2 separate regions of the Homo sapiens genome follow, and region 1 is linked to region 2. The links are contacts of gene promoters, found by promoter capture Hi-C in human tissues and cell types (Jung and others, 2019). All regions are on one chromosome and are shown on one strand. The core of a region is centred on a gene start or on the middle of the fragment in contact, and the rest is flanking DNA. Distances in the headings are between cores, read along the strand shown. Region 1 holds the start of ZNF599 (zinc finger protein 599). Region 2 holds the start of WTIP (WT1 interacting protein).

Region 1 (2,700 bases), core at 166-2,665, 290 kb after region 2:
TTGGGCCTGGGGATGAAAAACAGAACAGAAGCTGACATTCTGGGGTTGGGGGACAGATCCTCAGCAATAAACAATCAAGATAAAGTCAGAAGACTCTAGAAAACAACACAAGAGTGAGAAGACCACAAAGACTGGGAGAGACTTTACATGATGCAACCAGGGAAGCTCTCTCTGAAGAGACCCTGGAACAAGGTTAGATTGAAGTTAGAGAACAGACCAGGTGAGGAAAAATGAATAGACAACTCCTGAAGGTGATCAGAGCTACGAGGAGTAAACAGTGTGACATGCTGGAGAGTAACTTGGGGCCTTATGTGCTCACACTCCAAGAGACATACATTCATGTACACTGTCATTAATGAATATTGTGCTGGATTTGCTTTTCAAATACAAGAGCATGTGTTAAACAGAAGCACGGATTCACTGCTGTTAGGCGGCAAGCCAGATTCATTTGTAATAAACAGACGGCATCTGCAAAGATAAATCCAATGAGCTTCTTGTCTTCTAGCCTCCTGCCAAAAATGCTGCTCCCGCCTCACCTCTTGCCCTCGAGGCTCTCATTCCCTCTCCCAGCTTTTGGTAGGGCCAGACTTCCGCTGGAATGATCCCCTAAAACAACAGCAGGACCTAGAGAGTCCTTCTTCAAAGACGGCACCTAGAGTGATGCTCTCCGAGCAGTGAAAGACAGGACCCACGTCACAAGCGTACCCTCTCCAGCTCCCTCCACAGAGAAAATTACTGAGACTCGCATTTTAGACCCGAGGGAATGGAGGCCGAGGGCAGCGAGGCGACAGCTCCAGGTTAGAGCCAGAGACAGGGACCTCTCCTTACAACTCCTGTCCTGGATTCAGGACCCTGGGTAGGAAGTGATTAGCCCTGCCCTCTCACCTCACCCTCTCCCGGGATCTCCATAACCTAGGGCATCAAAAGGGAGAAGCACAGAGTCCCGGCATCCGCCGTATTACAGCGGATGGGTGCATGCGGGCGGTGACCCGAGCTCGCGCGGGCTGCGGAACCCTCCACTCACCAACGCCGGCGCCGCCATGGGCCCAGGGGGCTGGGTGAGGCCGTGAGAGTCGGCGAGGAAGCCGGTCCTGCGGGCTCGGCCGACCCCGGGCTCCGGCTCTGGGCTGCGAGGGACCTCAGTCCCCGCCGTCGTGTAAAATGCACACAAGGTTCGCGGCGCCGCCTCTGCGCGCCGTGAGGACACAGGGCTGTCGCCAAGGCCCCAGGAAGGGTTTTGCAGACGCTTGTGGGGGTGGGATCGCGGCTGACATAAAAGCGTGTAAGTGGGTCCTATCCTCCTCACTGTCCGTCTCTACTCGGTCTCGAAAAGTGGCCCCTGTCTGGCGTTCTACCCAGTGTAGCGTTGGCAACCACAGCAGCCGCAACCTAACGGCGGACGAAGACTGGACGCCGGAAGTCCCGCCCACGCCGCTACGGGAACGCCCCTCTGCGCCTTCCGTCTATGGCTTGGGGTCGGCTTCCGTCCCTTGTAGCACTGCCTTCTGGGTAATGTAGTTTGACGGAATCCGGGTGGTACCTGGAGCGCACTTTCTGTTCTCGGTGAGGCGGCTTCTCAAGGCTCCCAAGAAAGGGATTGGCTTCACCTCTTCTTAAAGGAGAGGCACACAGAGTTCCGTGGAAATTATCTGAGGCAATGACCCACTCTCAAATGTCTCTACCAGGCAACTCACGCCTTGACTTTCCTCCCTGTGTATCCCTGCGCCAGCAGTTCATCTCTCTGAGCCTTGAGATGGAGATTCCTAAGGAAAATGAAGATAATTATTTAATATGATAATATTAAAATTTCCCCTATCAGTAATTTTCAGATGACATCAGCATTACCTGCGAATTTGTTACCAATGCAAGTTCTTAGTCCCCACCCACTGAATCAGGTACTCTGGGGGGTGGGACCCAGCCCTCTGCTTAACTTGTCCAGGAAAAGTGGATGCTGCAAAACATTTGAGAACCAGACTCTTTAAATTCCAGTAAATAAATGAGACAAAGCCACCTGTTTGGTGGGAAGTAACTAAGAATTGCTTAGCACTGGGCCTGGAACATACCGATAAGAACATAAGAGCTATTGCTGTCATTATTAATATTCTGTATTATTGGCAACATCATCACAATACACTGCTAGGGGAGGGTCTGAGATACTTCTTTGCAGACTCTGATATTTGTCAAAACAAATACGTTGACTGATTCAACAGGAGCCTCATGAATACTGTTTAAATTTTACATAATAATACGTTGCAGCATTTGGCGTATGCATCTTTTTAAAACGGTATATGCAGGAGGGTTTCCTAATATACAGGTAGACCTATTGCCCAAGGGATACTTTCTTACATGATTCAAAACTTAGGATCACTGAGACTAATTACCTGCAGCCCTAAGGGAAGAGTGGAGTTGACATGGTTTCTAGTTTGTGATGTAAGATGGCGTGTCACTGTTCATCTCTAATTCACAGCAACCAGGATCTGACCCCTCCCCATCTGCCCCTCCAGCCCCCAGGGAAGCCAGAACCAGGCACAAACCAGATGGCCCAGCTTATGCCCAGCAACTCAGGGTCACCAGATCTTGTCTCATCAAGACACTTTCAGCCCACCACCCAAACCTGTAGCCCACATGAAGAGGGCAATAATCCTGGACACTGTGAAAAGTAAAAGCATTACATCCAAAGAGGCATCCCCAGGATGGAGC
Region 2 (2,700 bases), core at 88-2,587:
AGGAGTCCGAGGTGGGAGGATTGCTTGAGCCCAGGAGGTTGAGACTCTGGGGTGTGTGTGATCACTGTGAGCTGTGATCACACCACTGTACTCCAGCCTGGGGGACAGAGCGACACCTTGTCTGAAAAAAACAAAACAGCGCAACTCCCCCACCCTCCGCGCACACGAAATGCTTGCTTCCACTTCCCCTACCCTGGTGGGGCAGGGGCTGGAACTCCGCAGGCTATGGGAAGGTGCTGGGGTTAGCGGCCCCAGCGGGTGCTCAGTGGTGTTGAGGCCACACTGCCCTGGGCGGTCTGGCCGGGACAGTTCCCGTGCGGGCTCCCTGCGCGCTGAGCCACTGTAGGCGCCTTCCCGAAAATCTCTGAGCAGAGAGGGCCTGGAAAACAGTACTCTCTCACGCAACACTTTTCTTGGATCCATCAGGCCCTGACAGATAACGGTTTGGTTTTCTTCCCTATAGCCGTGTGACTTGTACAAGGGATTTTAGTTGTGTCCTTGGGCACGAAGCCCTAGTCACCTCTCGATTCCCCACCTATGTGGCCCCTATGGCCCCGCTGGTTCCAGGACCTCCCCTCGAAGCCTCACCCACCACCCTGGATGCAGGTGCTGGAAAAGGGAGGAGTCCCCATATTTCACGGGGACTGCCTGTGATGGCCACAGGGGAGGCTCGCCGCCCACCGGCTCTGAGCCTGAGGCCTGCTTCTAGCCTGGCCTTGGGGGCCTGGGCGAAGCGACCCAGCGCGAGGACCAGTCCCCAACCAACCCGCTCCTAGTTCTGGGCGCCTTCCCCAGCAGTCAGATGGGGGCTTCAGAGGCCGGTGCGCGGCCACATGGCCCCGGGCCAGGCAGGGGGTCGTGGGGACGCATCTGCGCTAGGCGCACAGTATTCCTGGGCGCGGGACGGGCGAAGCGCCGTGGGTTCCAAGCTGAGCTGGGTCGGCCCTGCAGCGCCGGAGAGCAAGGCGGCGCAGGGAAGGGAGATGGGGCGGGATGTGGGGAAAGCTGTCGACTGCTTGGATCTCTCCGGCCCGGATGGCGCCAGCTGCCTCCAGCTCAGCCTGCGGAAATCCGAGCTCTTCCCAGCGGCCCGACGGCCCGGGCGCCCCGCAGACCCTGGGCTCTCCCCGCGGTGCCTCCGCCGCCCGCCCCTGCGTCCTGGCCCGGCCTCCACGCCCCTCCGAGGTCCCGGCGCAGCGCGGCCGCCGCCACTCCCCCCACATTCCAGAGGCCGCAGCGCCGTCTCCTTCCTCGCATTCCTGCCCCCGCAAAGGAGTCCCTCCGCCCCGCGCGAGGCCGCGGCGAGGAGGGGGCGCGGCCCGGCGCCTGGGAGCTTACATTCCTCCGCCGCGCGCGCCGCCGAGCAGGGCGCCGCGTCCCCCGGCCCGCGCGTGGCCGCCGGAACGACCCCGGCCCGGCGCCGGCCCCGCCCCGCCCCGCGCCCAGGGGTCCCGGGGCGGGCTCCGGGCTTCGGGCGGACGATGCGGCGGCCCGGCCGGAGCGGCGGCGGGAAGCGGAGGCGGAGGTGACGCGCCAGGGCCGGCGGGCCGGGCCATGCAGCGCTCCAGGGCGGGCGCGGACGAGGCGGCCCTACTCCTGGCCGGGCTGGCCCTGCGGGAGCTGGAGCCCGGGTGCGGCTCTCCCGGTCGGGGGCGGCGGGGGCCGCGGCCTGGGCCTGGAGACGAGGCGGCGCCCGCGCTGGGCCGCAGAGGGAAGGGCAGCGGCGGCCCCGAGGCCGGGGCGGACGGACTGAGCCGCGGGGAGCGGGGTCCCCGGCGCGCGGCGGTTCCGGAGCTCAGCGCGCAGCCTGCGGGCAGCCCACGGGCCAGCCTGGCGGGGTCCGACGGCGGCGGCGGTGGCGGCAGCGCCCGATCCAGCGGCATCAGCCTGGGCTACGACCAGCGCCACGGCAGCCCGCGCTCCGGTCGCTCGGACCCGCGTCCCGGTCCCGGGCCGCCTTCGGTGGGCAGCGCCCGCTCCAGCGTTTCCAGCCTCGGCTCCCGGGGCTCGGCCGGCGCCTACGCTGACTTCCTCCCGCCCGGCGCCTGCCCCGCGCCCGCTCGCTCCCCGGAGCCTGCGGGGCCGGCTCCCTTCCCGCTGCCTGCACTCCCGCTGCCCCCTGGCCGGGAGGGCGGCCCAAGCGCGGCCGAGCGGCGGCTGGAGGCGCTCACCCGGGAGCTGGAGCGGGCGCTCGAGGCGCGCACGGCGCGGGACTACTTCGGTGAGCTCGCTCGGCCCGGCAGTTCCCTGCGCGCATGGCTGGGGTCCGGGGTTCCGAGACTGCCTCGGGTAGGCGGCCGGATCAGCGGAGGAGAGCACGGGGCTGGCTGGGGGTGCAGCAGTGCACGGGGTTGGGACGAGGAAGGTGCATCCCCTGGGGACTGGGGAGCGCAAAGGGTGAGTGAGTGCGCCTGGATCCCCAGCAGCGGCTTCACCCCTGCCTCTGGGTCCCCCGACACACGAGGGGTTCTGGCCGAGTGAGTTGATGTGCGGTTCCTAACTTAACAGGCAAGTCAGGTTCATGGGCACACTGAGCCATTTTCTGATAATTTTTTCTTCTTTCTTCTTTTTTTTTTTTCTTTCTTCTTTTTTTTTTTTTTTTGAGACAGGGTCTTCCTCTGTCGCCGAGACTGGAGTGCAGCGGCGCGTCCTCGGCTTACTGTAGCCGTCGCCTCTCAAGCTGAAGCGATCCTCTCGCCT

What was found. The method cuts DNA at HindIII sites, captures the fragments that hold promoters and counts their contacts. A contact is called where the count stands out against the background at its distance.
Region 1: a contact is called between the fragment with the promoter of ZNF599 here and the fragment with the promoter of WTIP in region 2, in 1 of the 25 tissues and cell types used here (heart right ventricle).

Annotation. Positions count from the first base shown.
Region 1 is chr19:34,771,800-34,774,499 of GRCh38, forward strand. ZNF599 (zinc finger protein 599) reads right to left here and starts at 1,416. Exons shown (of 4, transcript NM_001007248.3): 1 at 1,025-1,416. The coding sequence starts at 1,042. It overlaps LOC124904696 (a long non-coding RNA gene), which reads left to right and starts at 1,548. Exons shown (of 2, transcript XR_007067234.1): 1 at 1,548-1,895; 2 at 2,468-2,700. RefSeq lists a silencer at 1,067-1,126 and an enhancer at 1,237-1,346. The HindIII fragment of the contact is 7,437 bases long and covers 1-2,700 here.
Region 2 is chr19:34,480,421-34,483,120 of GRCh38, forward strand. WTIP (WT1 interacting protein) reads left to right here and starts at 1,338. Exons shown (of 8, transcript NM_001080436.2): 1 at 1,338-2,221. The coding sequence starts at 1,555. RefSeq lists enhancers at 411-1,065, 1,066-1,721, 1,722-2,376. The HindIII fragment of the contact is 21,139 bases long and covers 1-2,700 here.